2 separate regions of the Homo sapiens genome follow, and region 1 is linked to region 2. The links are contacts of gene promoters, found by promoter capture Hi-C in blood cells and fetal thymus (Javierre and others, 2016). All regions are on one chromosome and are shown on one strand. Each heading gives the region's core, a stretch centred on a gene start or on the middle of the fragment in contact. The rest is flanking DNA. Distances are from core to core; before and after follow the strand shown.

What was found. Contacts are between HindIII fragments. The CHiCAGO score rates a contact against its expected background, and 5 or more counts as called.
Region 1: a fragment that was not itself captured here is called in contact with the fragment with the promoter of DPY19L4 in region 2 in 1 of 17 cell types (megakaryocytes); the score reaches 6.6 in megakaryocytes.

What each region holds. Positions count from the first base shown.
Region 1 is chr8:94,564,873-94,572,402 of GRCh38, reverse strand. VIRMA-DT (VIRMA divergent transcript) reads right to left here. Exons shown (of 2, transcript NR_183271.1): 2 at 1,753-2,293. It also overlaps the pseudogene LOC100286997. Among named protein-coding and RNA genes, the nearest start is that of VIRMA-DT, 15 kb to the right of the region's middle. The HindIII fragment of the contact is 6,738 bases long and covers 1-4,630 here.
Region 2 is chr8:94,716,432-94,724,095 of GRCh38, reverse strand. DPY19L4 (dpy-19 like 4) reads right to left here and starts at 4,196. Exons shown (of 19, transcript NM_181787.3): 1 at 4,082-4,196. The coding sequence starts at 4,097. RefSeq lists a silencer at 4,069-4,388 and an enhancer at 4,149-5,103. The HindIII fragment of the contact is 11,065 bases long and covers 1-4,750 here.

The sequences.
Region 1 (7,530 bases), core at 12-2,511, 150 kb after region 2:
CTGGGAATGAACTAAAGAATTGAAACTGAGCACTGGCGGGGCGCGGTGGCTCATGCCTGTAATCCCCTTACTTTGGGAGGCCGAAATGGGCAGATCACTTGAGGTCCAGGAGTTCAAGACCAGCCTGGCCAACGTGGTGAAACCCTGTCACTACCAAATAATACAAAAATTAGCTGGGCATGGTGGTACACACCTGCAGTCCCAGCTACTCCGGAGGTTGAGGTGGGAGAATTGCTTGAACCTGGGAAGCAGAGGTTGAAGTGAGCCAAGATCATGCCACTGCACTCCAGCCTGGGTGACAGAGTGAGACTTAGTCTCAAAAACAAAAACTAAAAAGAAATAAAGGGGCCAGGTGTGGTGGCTCATGCCTGTAATCTCAACACTTTGGGAGGCCAAGAGGGGCGGATCACCTGAGGTCAGGAGTTCGAGACGACCCTGGCCAACATGGCGAAACCCCATCTCTACTAAAAATACAAAACTCAGCCAGGCATGGTGGCACACACGTGTAATCCCACCTACTTGGGAGGCTGAGGCAGAAAAATCGCTTGAACCTGGGAGGCGGAGGTTGCAGCGAGCCAAGATCGTGCCACTGCACTCCAGCCTGGGAGACAGAGACTCCATCTCAAAATTAATTAATTAATTAATTAAATTTTGTTTAGAAAAGGAAACTGAGCATTGACTATTTTGAAAGAAGAATAAAAGTAAAGAAAAGATTTATCAGAAAGTTTACTCTTCCCATGGTGTTTACAACTAATTGAAATACGAGACTAGAAGCAAAGAGGTCATTAGGAAAGTTTTTTTTTTTTTTTTTTTTTTTGAGACGGAGTCTTGCTCTGTCGGCCAGGCCGGACTGCAGTGGCGCAATCTCGCTTCACTGCAAGCTCCGCCTCCCGGGTTCATGCCATTCTCCTGCCTCAGCCTCCCGAGTAGCTGGGACTACAGGTGCCCGCCACCACGCCTGGCTAATTTTTTTATTTTTAGTAGAGACGGGATGGCCGTCAATCGGCCGGGCGCTGTGGCTACGCCTGTAATCCCAGCACTTTGGGAGGCCGAGGCGGGCGGATCACGAGGTCAGGAGATAGAGACCATCCTGGCTAACACGGTGAAACCCCGTCTCTACTAAAAATACAAAAAATTAGCTGGGCGTGGTGGCGGGCTCCTGTAGTCCCAGCTACTCCGGAGGCTGAGGCAGGAGAATGGCGTCAACCCGGGAGGCGGAGCTTGCAGTGAGCCGAGATCGCGCCACTGCACTCCAGCCTGGGTGACAGAGCGAGATTCCGTCTCAAAACAAACAAACAAACAAACAATAACCCTTTGAATCTGAAGACCAAAATTAAAGCAAAATAAAACACTCAAGGATTCCAAACACTTATGAAGTTTCTAAATGCACACTCTTAAACTCTGTACTTAAGCTGGGCATGAGTTGGTTAAATCTGTATTTTGTTTGTATTTTTTTAGAGACAAGGTCTCACTCTGTTGCCCAGGCTGTAGTGCAGTGGTGTGATCATGGCTCATAGCAGCCTTGAACTCTTGGGCTCAAGTGATCCTCCCTCCTCAGCCTCCGGAGTAGTTGGGACCACAGGTGCACACCACTGTGCCTGGCGAATTTTTAAATTATTATTATTATTTTTTTAATAGAGACAGGGCCTTGCTATGTTGCCATGGCTAGTCTCAAACTCCTGGCCTCAAGGGATCCTCCTGCCTGGGCCCCTCAAGGTGCTGGGATTACAGACATGAGCCACTGTGCCTGGCTATCTTTCTGGTATTTGTATTTTATTTCTGCAACACTATTGTTAGTTCATTTAAGATCATTATCATATTTCATTTGGTTGAAATGTCCCACTGAACCCATAGAAACACTTTCTAAGTAGTTGTTTCAATTTAGAATGGTTTGATTGCAAGAAACAGACTTGAGGTTTACAACAAGGAACATTAATCTCAAACAAGATTGGTAACATGGTTGAGCCTCCCTCAGTGAACCTGCTTCTGGACTCGGGGCAGCTTTGTGATCTCAGCATAGGTGATCATCAACAGTCATTCTTGTCTAGTCCTTTGTCATTAATTTGGCTCAGCTCCATTCCATGTATCTATATCCTCTGTCCTACTACCAGCTGGTAATTTCACTCGAGCCTCTCATTGTTCAGTCAGGTCACACGTCAGAAGTTGCTGGCCAATTGAGAGCTCCCTCCCCACCTTGCGCCAGGTGACTATTCTTGGCCAAATTAGCTGGAGATGGGAGACTAGGTGAAGTCCACTGCACAACCTGCAGAAGATTTACATAGGAGTAGACTCCCTGATGCAGGAGGGAAAGTGGATCCAGAGAGAGAGAGAGAGAGAAAGAGGGAGAGAGAAGAAGAGACAGAGAGCCCAATTAATACTTGCTCATCAAGTAACATAAAGTTCTTATGTAAAAGCAACTTTTTAGACAGCTCACTTCATGCTACCGGCCATCTTTAAATCTACCTAACCTTTGTATTTATGCTTAAAATTTTTGTTTTTATTTATTTATTTTTTTTTGAGACGGAGTCTCGCTGTCGCCCAGGGCGCGATCTCGGCTCACTGCAGGCTCCGCCCCCCGGGTTCACGCCATTCTCCTGCCTCAGCCTCCCGAGTAGCTGGGACTACAGGCGCCCGCCACCTCGCCCGGCTAATTTTTTGTATTTTTTTTTAGTAGAGACGGGGTTTCACCGTGTTAGCCAGGATGGTCTCTATCTCCTGACCTCGTGATTCGCCCGCCTCGGCCCCTCAAAGTGCCGGGATTACAGTCACGGCGCCCGGCCAAAAAAATTTTTTTAAAGAAAGAATAATCCAGCCAGGTGTAGTGGCTCATGCCTGTAATCCCAAAGTTTTGGGAGGCTGCGGTGGGAGGATCGCTTAAGCCCAGGAGTTCAAGACCAGCCTGGGGAACATAATGAGACCCCTGTCTTTACACACACACACACACACACACACACACACACACTAGCCAGATGTGGTGGTATGTGCCTGTAGTCCTAGTTATTAGGGAGGCTGAGATGGGAGGATTACTTGAGACTAGGAATTCAAGGTTACGGTGAGCTATGATTGTGCCTCTGCACTCCAACCTGAGCAACAGAATGAGACCCTGTCTCTCTCTTAAAAAAAGAAGAAACAAACAAACAAAAAATTCATAAGGCTTATGTCACTAGTTTTCAAGAGCATAGAAATAAAGTGAAGAGCAAGTTTAGATTAAGCTACAATTGCTTGTAATTAAGACCTAAAAAGTTACAGAAGTTTCTTTTCTGTGTACTTCTCAAGAGTTTATTGATTTATTATTTTAGAGGTGGGGTCTCACTCTGTGGCCCAGACTGGAAAAGGTTTATATTATGCCCCGACATGCATGGTTAAGCTCTAAGAGGCAGATAGGGTTTGCAGCATTTCCCAAATGATTTTTGATCACAGAAACCTTTTTTTCTGTGGAGCTTCTTGAGGGAACATGCTTTGAGTCAGTCTAGATCTGCTGAATATGGTACAGCAATTACATAAAGAGAAAAGGCCATGTGTAAGGCGTATGGTCTGCATACTGTGGGCTTGGTACTGGGTGGTGGAACTGAACCACAGAGCTTTGCCTGTCTTTGAAATAGATAGGATCCCAGAAAGGTGTGTTCATGGCTTTCTGAAAAAACATTTGGAAAATAGCTGGGGTCATTCAGTCTTTCAGGGCAGCTGGCACTAATGGGTATGCTTATTTTGAGATATGTCTGTATATAATAGTTTACAGTCTGTGTTTCTTGAATCTGTAGCTAATCTCTGGACTACATACTGAAGAATGATGTGGAAGTGTCACAGCAAACCCTTGGCCATAGAAAATTATAATCAAGTCTCATAGAAAAAGGTGGCAGCTGTTACTTTTGATTGGTGCCCTCAGAAAGGCAGGCAAATGAAGGCCCATTGTGTTCCTGATGCTGGATGAATGTCTTGCAGCTGGCAGTCTGCTAGACTCCCAAATCAGTTGTTCTTTTCCAAGAGAACTGTTGATGTACTTGGTCTCAGGAGAAGTTAAAATGCTTGGCAGTTCACTCAGACCTTCTTCTTGCTCTGTGTACTTGTGTAAATGTCAGTCACCTTGAAAGGGAGCTCATCTGTTATCAACATTGGAATTGTGGGCTGGTTACATTTCTTCTACCACCTTTGTCTTTTTTGTCAAGTTGCTCCTGGCAAGTATTCGGATTTTTATAAATTGCTTTTCACATTGAAGATAAATTTTGTTTTTCTTCAAATTGCTCTTTTCACTGTCAGGTGCTGGAAATCAAAGAAGGAAAGATACAGTAGCTGGTAAAATAGCAGTAGCTACTATGGGCTGGTTACAGAGCACTGTCCTGGGATACTTTATAATCTGATGAGCAAGAGAGGCAAAAATGAAAGAACAAAAACAGAAAAGTACAATATAAGCATTTGACATATAAATGATGTGCAATATATAATTCTATATGGGATCTGAAATAGGACAAAATAAATTAATTTGTTCAATAAGTATTTTTAGTGTTTAGTATGTGCCATGTACTAGGGATGTATTAATGAACGAGATACAATCACTACATGGGAAGCAGCTCAGAGGTTAGAAGAGGGACACTGACCTCTTCTGGCCACAAACAAGTTGGGTACTAAAGCTTAAGCTGTGGAATATACTCTGAAGTCACAAATGAGAGAACATCAAATCTACTGAGGGATAGGAGGAGCCATTGGGGGGAAGTAGGTATGTATATGCCATATTTGGTTTATGCATTTATTTGCTGATGGATATTTGAGTTGTTTGTACATTTTTGGCCATTGTAAATAGTGCTGCTATGAACATGCACATATAAGTATTTGTTTAAATACCTATTTTCAGGCCGGCACAGTGGCTCAAACCTGTAATCCCAGCACTTTGGAAGTCCATGTCAGGAGGACTGCTTGAGATTAGGAGTTAGAGACAAGCTTGAGCAACATAGTGAGACCCCCGCCACACAAACACCCACTCTAAACAATTTAAAAAATTAGCAAGACATAGTGGCATGTGCCTGTAGTCCCAGCTACTCAAGAGGCTTAGGCGGGAGGACGGCCTGAGCCCAGAAGTTCAAGGCTGCAGTGAACTATGATCATAACACTGAACCCCAGCCTGGGCAACAGAGCAAGATCCTGCCTCATTTAATAAATAAATAAATAAATACCCATTTTCAAATATTTTAGTATATACCTAGCAGTGGGACTTGGGGTTATATGGTAATTCTATGCTTAACTTTTTGAGGAACCATCACACTGCTTTCCACAGTGGCTGCACCATTTTACATTCCCACCAGCAATGTACAAGAGTTTCAATTTCTCCATGTCCTTGCTAACACTTGTTATATAAAAAAAATTCTAGCCATCCTAATGGATATGAAGTGGTATCTCACTGTGGTTTTTTTGTTTTGTTTTGTTTTTCTTTTTTTGAGACAGAGGCTCGCTCTGTTGCCAAGGCTGGAGTACAGAGGTGTGATCTCGGCTCACTGCAACCTCCATTTCTCAGGTTGAAGTGATTCTCCTGCCTCAGCCTCCTGAGTAGCTGGGAATACAGGCATGCACCATCAAACCCCGCTAATTTTTGTATTTTTAGTAGAGATAGGGTTTCACCATGTTGGCCAGGCTGTTCTCGAACTCCTGACCTCAAGTGATCCACCTGCCTCAGCCTCCCTAAGTGCTGGAATTACAGGTATGAGCCACCTCACCCAGGCTCATTGTGGTTTTGATTTGCCTTTCCCTAATGACTAAAGATACTGAACATCTTTTCATGTGCTTCTTGGTCATTTGTACACCCTCTTTGGAAAATGTCTGTTCAAGTCCTTTGCCCATTTTAAAATTGGGGGGTTTGTCTTTTTGTTGTTGAGTTGTAAGAGTTCTTTCTATATTCTACGGAGTAGATCCTAATCAGATATATAATTTGTAAATACTTTCATTCTGTAGGTTGTTGTCTTAGTTTGTTTGTGCTGCTATAACAGAATATCTAAGAATGATTCATTTATAACAAACAGAAATTTATTGGCTCACAGTTTCAGAGCTCAGAAGTCCAAGATCAAGGCACTAACATCTGGTGAGGGCCTTCTTTCCGCATCATCATGTGGTGGAAGGCCACCAAGCCCGGCTAATTTTTTTGTATTTTTAGTAGAGACAGGGTTTCACCATGTGTTAGCCAGGATGGTCTCAATCTTCTGACCTCGTGATCCGCCCGCCTCAGCCTCCCAAAGTGCTGGGATTACAGGTGTGAGCCACCGTGCCCGGCCTTACCTCATCTATTTTTTGACAAGCTAATGACCTCGTTGAGACAGAAGCCATCAGAAAGGAACTCCCTCATTTTCCACATAGTATATCCTCATCTGCATTTGTACCCATGGACTCTTTCTTCCCCTGGTTACCAGAGAGTAGGTGTTCCTTTTAGCAAAGGTCACTATTTGGTCACCAGGTACCACCTCTACCTATTAAATACTTTGCTGTCTCAGATGTCCCCTCTGTCTCTTCATCATCATGGTTACTCTCCTCATTACTTTATTCCCATAATTCTACACATTCTGTTATCCCTCATCTTAAAAACACTATTTCTTGACCTGACAGGCTCCTCCAACAACCATCACATTTCTTTGTTCTATGCAACAAAAGTTTGTGGTATTTTTTGCAATTTTATAACTTTATTTGATGTGTTTGATGATCAGCAGTTAGTTCTCATCCATACTGACTGTAGATTTTTGAAAGTGGTAATGTGTACATAGGTAACCAAAGTATAGAGCTCATTTGGTGAATCTTCATCTTCATTACGTTCCTGGAAACTGCACATGGATACGGTATGGGACATTACTTATACTTATTCCTTTGGCCCAGACAGCTTTGTTGAGCCTGGTATCAACGCGCACATCTGGAGTTCCCATCTCCTTCACGGCAAATTTCTGGATCTCTTTGAGTGCTTGAGGGGCATGCTTCTTTTTTTCTGAGATGGAGTCTTGGTCTGTCACCTAGGCTGGAGTGCAGTGGCACTATCTCAGCTCACTGCAACCTCCACCTCCGGGGTTCAAGCGATTCTCCTGCTTCAGCCTCCCGAGTAGCTGGGATGACAGGCGCCCAGCACCACGCCCGGCTAATTTTTGTATTTTTAGTAGAGATGGGTTTTCACCATGTTGGCCAGGCTGGTCTTGAAATCCTGACCTTGTGATCCGCCTGCCTTGGCCTCCCAAAGTGTTGGGATTACAGGCATAAGCCACCACGCTCGGCCGAGGGGCACACTTCTTGAAGTCCACTCCATGGATGTGTTTGTGAATGCTGATGGTGTATTCTCGGGTCACCACCTCATTGATGGCAGAACTGCCCTTTTTCTTTTTGCCACCCTTCTTTGCAGGAGCCATCCTGCCAGGCCCAAATTGGAAAGGAAGCCAACAAAAGTTTTTTGAAAGAGTTATTTATACAACTTTTCTCTACTCCTCGGTTCTTATTTATCTGTAAAAATTCTATTTTTTGCCAGGCACGGCGGCTCACGCCTGTAATCCCAGGACTTTGGGAGGCCGAGGT
Region 2 (7,664 bases), core at 2,947-5,446:
ACAAAAAATTATCATTTTCCTTTTTAAAAATGTTCTTTATCAAATAAATCGCTTTACAGGACTTTAATTAAACATGTTCTCTTTGTGTCCATAAATGATTTTTGTTTATAAAAGTACAACTTACACAAACATTTTGCATAGATTTTCAAGTAATTTATGAAGTATACAAATCTCAACAATCATCTCTCAAGAACTTATATTAGCAATGATCAAGGACCATACAAATATGTAATCTATAAAAGATCTATAATATTATATTTTCCTGATTCTAAGATGCCATACGTTTGAAGATACTACTTAATAGGTTTTTCAAGGGGAAAAAAAACCACACTGTCATACTGAATGTGTGCACTGATTTTAAGACATATCAATTTTAGTGGCATTAAACTGTAAGAGCCAAAAGTACGACTCGATAAATACAGTATTCATTTTAGCTCATCTCTTCAACCTTATCCCTAAAGCTAACTTTTCATATAATTTCATAATGGAAAAACAAAGTCACACATCTCTAGGTGGAAAAAAAGCAAAGGCCAAAGCAATGGACAAATGAGATTATCAGTTCTGACAGGAAAGCTCTGCGATGTAATTCAGGTTTCCTTTTCACTATCTTTTTTTTTTTTTTGAGACGGAGTTTCACTCTTTTTGCCCAGGCTGCAGTGCAGTGGTGCCATCCCGGCTCACTACAACCTCCGCCTCCCGGGTTCAAGCAATTCTCCTACCTCAGCCTCCCGAGTAGCTGGGATTACAGGCATCCGCCACTACGCCCAGCTAATTTTTTGTATTTTTAGTAGAGACAGGGGTTTCATCATGTTGGCCAGGCTGGCCTCAAACTCCTGACCTCGTGATTTGCCCGCCTCGGCCTCCCAAAGTGCTGGGATTACAGGCGTGAGCCACCACGCCCGGCCACTCCTTTTCACTATCTGATATTTTTAGCATTGTAAAGAAAAAGTCAAACTAAATGAAGATGATTACACATCCACAAAAGTAACCTGCTATTTCAGACTTCAGTCCAGTCATCTTCATATGAAACAGTAGGGCTACAAACAGACTTTCAAATGTCTATCCAGGCTAGACATAGCAGTTTCCAAGTGAAATGTTAATACTGCTCTACTCAAGGTTGTCACTTCTTTCTTTGCTCTAACATTGCGTTCAGAAAGCATAAATATAAACACCCTGGCCCTCTACTGCATCAAGGAAGACATTTTTTTAAAGACCAGATTCCCAGAGTATTTACTTGGACAATGAAGAGGATCCAAGTGAATGTGAATGGTAAGCAAGATGGGACGCGGAGAACACCTGGATACAAGTAAAATACACAGACTATTTAGTCTAATTTTAACACAGCGAACAAAAGATAATACGGATTCTGGGGGAAAAAAAGTATAGAGTGACAAATAAACATAAAACACTCAGAATGCCTGGCACATAGACAGACAGGTTTGCTATATGTATTATTATTACTAGCATTATAATAAATGAAAATTTACTCATTCATTGTTGACTATTATATCCTTGCATCTAATAGGGTATGAATACACATATTTATGGAATTAGAAATGTGTTGAATAAAGCAATATTTTAATAAATTACAACCCATTAATTGTCCCATGTAAGATGTATTTAACTGCTTTTGAATTATATGTAATTCTACAACCAAAAATCATTTATCATTTTATTTATTTTATTTTTGAGAGGGAGTCTCACTCTGTCACCCAGGCTGGAGTGCAGTGGGGCGATCTCGTCTCACTGCAACCTCGGCCTCCTGGGTTCCATCGATTCTCTTGCCTCAGCCTCCCGGGTAGCTGGGACTATAGGCATGCGCCACCATGCCCGGCTAACTTTTGTATTTTTTAGTAGAGACAGGGTTTCACCATATTGGCCAGGCTGGTCTCGAACTCCTGACCTCGTGATCCGCCCACCTTGGCCTCCCAAAGTGTTAGGATTACAGGCGTGAGCCACCTTGCCCGGCCTTAATTTTATTTTTTTTTAGATGGAGTCTCACTCTGTCACCCAGGCTGGAGTGCAATGGTGCAATCTTGGCTCACTGCAACCTCCGCCTCCCGGGTTCAAGTGATTCTCCTATCTCAGCCTCCTGAGTAGCTGGGACTACAGACACTTGCCACTCCACCCGGCTGATTTTTGTATTTTTAGTAGAGATGGGGTTTCACTGTGTTAGCCAGGCTGGTCTCGAACTTCTGACTTCAAGTGATCCACTCGCCTTGGCCTCCCAAAGTGCTGGGACTACAGGCATGAGCCATCATGCCCCGCCCATTTATCATTTTACATCACGTAAGTAAAATTTACAAAACGGTACAATCTTTTAATATTGGCTCCACAGATCTATTTAAGTACAACCATAGTCTAAAATAATTTTTCATTTTGCATGATGTATTAAAGACTTTCAGTATTGTAGTACTGATTTTTTAATGCAGTCTTAACTTTTTTAATGCTTTAAGTTAAGCATGAATGTACTCATAGGAACCTACAAGCTAGTATATCAACCTACCCCCATAAATTTGCAATTAGAAAAGAAAAATACATCAAGAAATATTTCAAATGATGATATACTGTAACCACAGACAGAACCAAGTAAACAAATGGAATTACATTCTTTCTCACCAACGACAAATAGCTTTGTTTTTGAAGCTGTTTTTAGTTAGAATGTCTTAAATTCAGACCAGCTTTAACACTCTGAAAACTCAATGGAAACAAATATGAACCAAGCCTGCATAGGGACAGGTCAGCAAGTCACACATCAGTAAACACTTCTTATGCTTAATTTTTAAAAATTGCTTTCCGCTGAATCCTTTAAACTCCTTCCTTGCACTCTTGATTCAGAAAGGCTTGAGTCGGCTGGACCCGTGGCTCACGCCTGTAATCCCAGCACTCTGGGAGGCCGAGGTGGGCGGATCACCTGAGGTCAGAAGTTCAAGACCAGCCTGACCAACATGGAGAAACCCCGTCTCTACTCAAAATATAACATTAACCGGGCGTGATGGCGCATGCCTGTAATCCCAGCTACTAGGGAGGCTGAGGCAGGAGAATCGCTTGAATCCAGGAAGCGGAGGTTGCGGTGAACCGAGATCGCGCCTTTGCACTCTAGACTGGGCAACAAGAACGAAACTCCGTTTCAAAAAAAAAAAAGGCAGGGGGGCTTGAGTCTAAATTAGATCGATTTACTATCACATCCACAGCTCCACTCATAAGGTAAAAAGTTGTGTTTTCCACCAGAATGCAAAAATCTAATTGCTTCTCACTTCCTGAAACTAGTAGGGGTTATCATGAAGTTACTATGCCATGAGTATTCCTTGTATTGTTTATCACTAACCGATAAGTTTCATCTAACTTCCCATTTTTGTCTCATACTTATCATTTTCTATAAATAAAATACTGCTGAATGAATTACTTATCTTAGCATTGATCCTGAAGGCGGCATGGAAACCTTTCTCCAGCTCACCCACTTTGACCCTCAAAGGCCTCCTGGCCTCATCATCTCCCAAAACTATAATAATTAGATGGCTCTGCTCTTTACCATTTTCCCCTGAACCTAAGTGAACTTGGCTTTCTTCAGTTTCTGCGTGTTCGCCCATTCCCAATTAATCTTGCCACGTTTATCCCAAATCCCTGCCTCTTTATCCCCGTGGTGAATGTTCCCTCGCCCCCTGTGCCTCTGGGTTTGTCAATATCCACAGCCCTTTAAAAATCGCATTCCAAATATGCACTGAGTACCTAAACCTGATCTTCGAAACCAAACTGCGCCTCCCACTTCACCAAGAATCTGATCAGGACCCTCCCTCTTTCCCAACCACTCCCGGCACAGCTTTCTCTCTTGCTACGGATTCCCAACTTTCAGCTCCACCTTTGCTTCCCAATTCGGCCGACAAAACTTCGGGCCATTTGCTCCGCTCTCCTGAATTTCTCCGCAGTCCTCTCCTGGGCGCCGCGCTCCTTCCCGCCCTGCCCGCGCGGCCGCCACCGCGACCGCGGCCACCAGCAGCTCCAACCCAGACCTCCAGCGCCCCCGCCCCTCCTTCCCGAGACCACTGGCAGCCGTTGGCGCGCTGGACCCCGCGGCAATCACCTTCTTCCTCCGCCATCGTTTCTGCGAAGGCTAGGGCGCCCTGCGGCTCCCGCGCGGCCCAGACTCTCCCTCCCTCCGCGTCGCCGAACCCCTCGGCCTCCGGGGGCCCGCTCCTGGCCGCCGCGCCCCCACTTCCTGACCCACCCCCCTCCGGTGTCGCCGCCAACCGCGTCCCCGCAGGCGGCCCGGGAACCAGAGTGTTGGGAGAGGGGAGCGGCCGGAGCGTTTCGCTGGGGCGCCGGGGCCTGCGCGGGCAGGAAGGAGACTCCACGCCGGGAGTGCAGCCCACAGCTGTAGCTCCTGGCCGCCGCCTGCCCTGGAAAGCGAGACTGGTGGGTCTCGCTGCAGCCCCGCCCCTCGTCCTACTCTTCCCAAAAAGTGAGGGCATGCTTTCCGCCACTTTTGTGACTCCGCGACTTAGCGAGTCAGAGACGATCATCAGCGACACCTCCCAGGTCCAGCCTCCATTCCCGCCCCATTTTACATGGAGGAAACTCAGATCTAATGTGGTGGAAGTCACAAAGCCGGTCAGAGGCAGAAGTGGAACCCGGTGCTCCAGAACTGCCATCGCTGCCTGCGTTCTCGCTGGGATTTCAGAGTGCAGCAGCAAAACGTTCTCAGTTGGCGCTTTGGTTTCGTAGGCCACTTGACCATTACAAGAAAGAAGCTTGTGCTTGGAACTTGTTTTAAATCACCAAAACTGGTTTAGCAAATATGTTGCATTTCATGATATTCTGGGGGGGGGGGCGGGGAGATAATACAATGGTCTGGGGTAGAGCAGTGTGCAATTAGATATTACAGAGCAATAGGGAATAATTTTAATTTGTTAAACTGTGTTTAACTTTCATTATATCTAGCATTCTTCAACAAACACCGGGATCTTTTCCCCAACAGTACTCAGAAGTAAATTTAGTAAATGAAATATACCCATTTTAGATCGGGAGAAACAGGCACGAGAATTCACTGAAGTCATGGGGTAATTATGGACACCCCATTATTAGCAGGCAGCAAGATTCTCCTAATAGCACCTTTAAGTTAGGATATTTGGGGAGAGGCTATCATTTTTCAGTGATGTGCAGAAACGGTTCCAGGAACTTTTTTTTTTTTTTTTTGAGACAGAGTCTCGCTCTGTCGCCCAGGCTGGAATGCAATGACTCGATCTAGGTTCACTGCAACCTCCGCCTCCCAGGTTAAAGCGATTTTCGTGCCTCGGCCTTCCCAGTAGCTGGGACTACAGGCGCAAGCCACCACTTAATTTTCATATTTTTAGTAGAGATGGGATTTCACCATGTTGGTTGGCCAGGCTAGTCTCCAACTCCTGGCCTCAAGTGATCCGCCCACCTTGGCCCCCCGAAGTGCTGGGTTTACAGGTGCCCACCACCACGCCCGGATAATTTTTTGTACTTTTAGTAGAGAAGTGGAGGGGTGTGGTTTCACCATGTTGCCCAGGCTGGTCTTGAAATCCTGACCTCAAGTGATCCACCGGCCTCAGCCCCACAAAGTGCTGGGATTACAGGCATGAGCTACCACGCAGGGCCTCCAGGAACTCTTTTTATGTCTGGTTCCCCGTAAAGATGTTTTTTGCCTTAAAACAACACTTTACCAGGAGTTAGAAACAGTGGACCAGAAAAGGCCTGGTGCCAGAGCCAAGAGAGCACAGAATATAAGGACCCTGAAAACCACAGGATATGGTAGGGTCCCTGGACATGAGCAACAGTACCTGAGTATGCTGCTTATCAGATCAGCTGACTGAAAGAGCTGCACCTCTTGGAAAACATATAGTAGCTATTGAGGTCTGCTGTTTTCTAAGTCTAGAGTCTTAATATCCTACAGTTTCTTCACGGTCACCTCAAGTTGACTAATGGACTAAATTTTAAGTTTGCCTGACCTCTACAATAACAGGGGAAAGAAAAATGATAGAAAAAAAATAGCTTCTTAAAATAACAAATGGAAATATAAGATAAGATAGAGATAATTATGCCCTAGTAGAAACATTCTTCTCTTGAACCCTAAAAACCCACATTAGGGCCGGGCACGGTGGCTCATGCCTGTAATCCCAACACTTTGGGAGGCTGAGGCAGGTGGATCACCTGAGGTCAGGAGTTCGAGACCAGCCTGACCAACATGGAGAAACCCCATCTCTGCTAAAAATACAAAATTAGCCGGGCGTGGTGGCGCATGCCTGTAATCCCAGCTACTCGGGAGGCTGAGGCAGGAGAATTGCTTGAACCTGGGAGGTGGAGGTTGCGGTGAGCCGAGATCATGCCATTGCATTCCAGCCTGGGCAACAAGAGCGAAACTCCATCACACAAAACAAACAAACAAAAAACACATAAGGATAATGAGAGTGGAGCATCTTATTCTCAAACCAGTGTAATCTTACTGTGAGAAAAATAGGCTGTTTTTATTAAAAATCTATATTTCATTCAAGAAGAATTAGAACCTGAACTACTCAAGATGTTGCCTTGCAGCAGGCATTACAGCTGAGTTTTCAGTAGGCCATTTCCTAATTCCTAAGGCCAGCTGTTTCCAGATGGCTAGTGGACATATGGTTGTAAGATGATTTCAGACGATACTCTGATTGTTTTATCACTGCAAAACCATGGGCTGCTAGTTTCTTATGCAAGATGTGAAGGAGCATTTCATTACATTTTGCGTCACCCTGACCAGTCCTAAAGAACCCAAATTTTCCCAAATTGTCTTTTACTTATGAGCTATTCAAAGAGCCGTGTGATTTTCCGCCTTCTCTAGAAGTTTGAGGACCTCTTCTCTATGCAATGGATATTTTAAGGACATAATGTGAAATGTTCTTTGTTTTAAAAAGTTAAGTCTTTAGCAAATGTAGTTTAGGAGGCTTTTATAGTAAACTGAGTAAGAAAATAAAGGCCTGGTATGAGGCAATGAAAATAAAAATGTTCAAAGAGAATGAATTCAAAAGATGCTGGAAATGAAATCTACAGGGCCTGATGACAAATTGGATGTGATAAATGATGAGTCGAACATGATTTCTGATATTTCCATCTTGAAATTAATCATGTGCTTTCCATGTTCCCAGGAAAAAGTGCTGCCAAGATGTAAGAACAATATAAAACAGAAGGCCTTAAAACTTCTCTACTTGAAACCAAAAAAATACATGCAGTCTATTTTTAAAACATTCTTCTGAGGCTGATCGAGGTGGCTCATGCCTGTAATCCCAGCTTTTTGGGAGGCCAAGGCCGGCAGATCGCTCGAGCCCAGGAGTTCAAGACCAGCCTTGGCAACATGGTGAAGCCCCGCCACTACTAAAAAATACAAAAAATAGCTGGGCATGGTGGCGTGCACCTGTAGTTCCAGCTACCTGGGAGGCTGAGGTGGGAGGATCACCTGAGCCAAAGAGGTTGAGGCTGCAGTGAGCTGTGATCAAGCCACTGCACTCAAGCCTGGCTGAGAATGAGACCCTGTCAAAAAAACAACAGCAGCAAAAAAACAAAAAACAAGAAACATTATTCTGGCATATGCTTCACCTCATTAGTAGTAAAAGAACATAATTAGTTAGAAATCCTTGTGTCGGTTCAGCTTCTATGAAAGATATGGAATTGTGTTT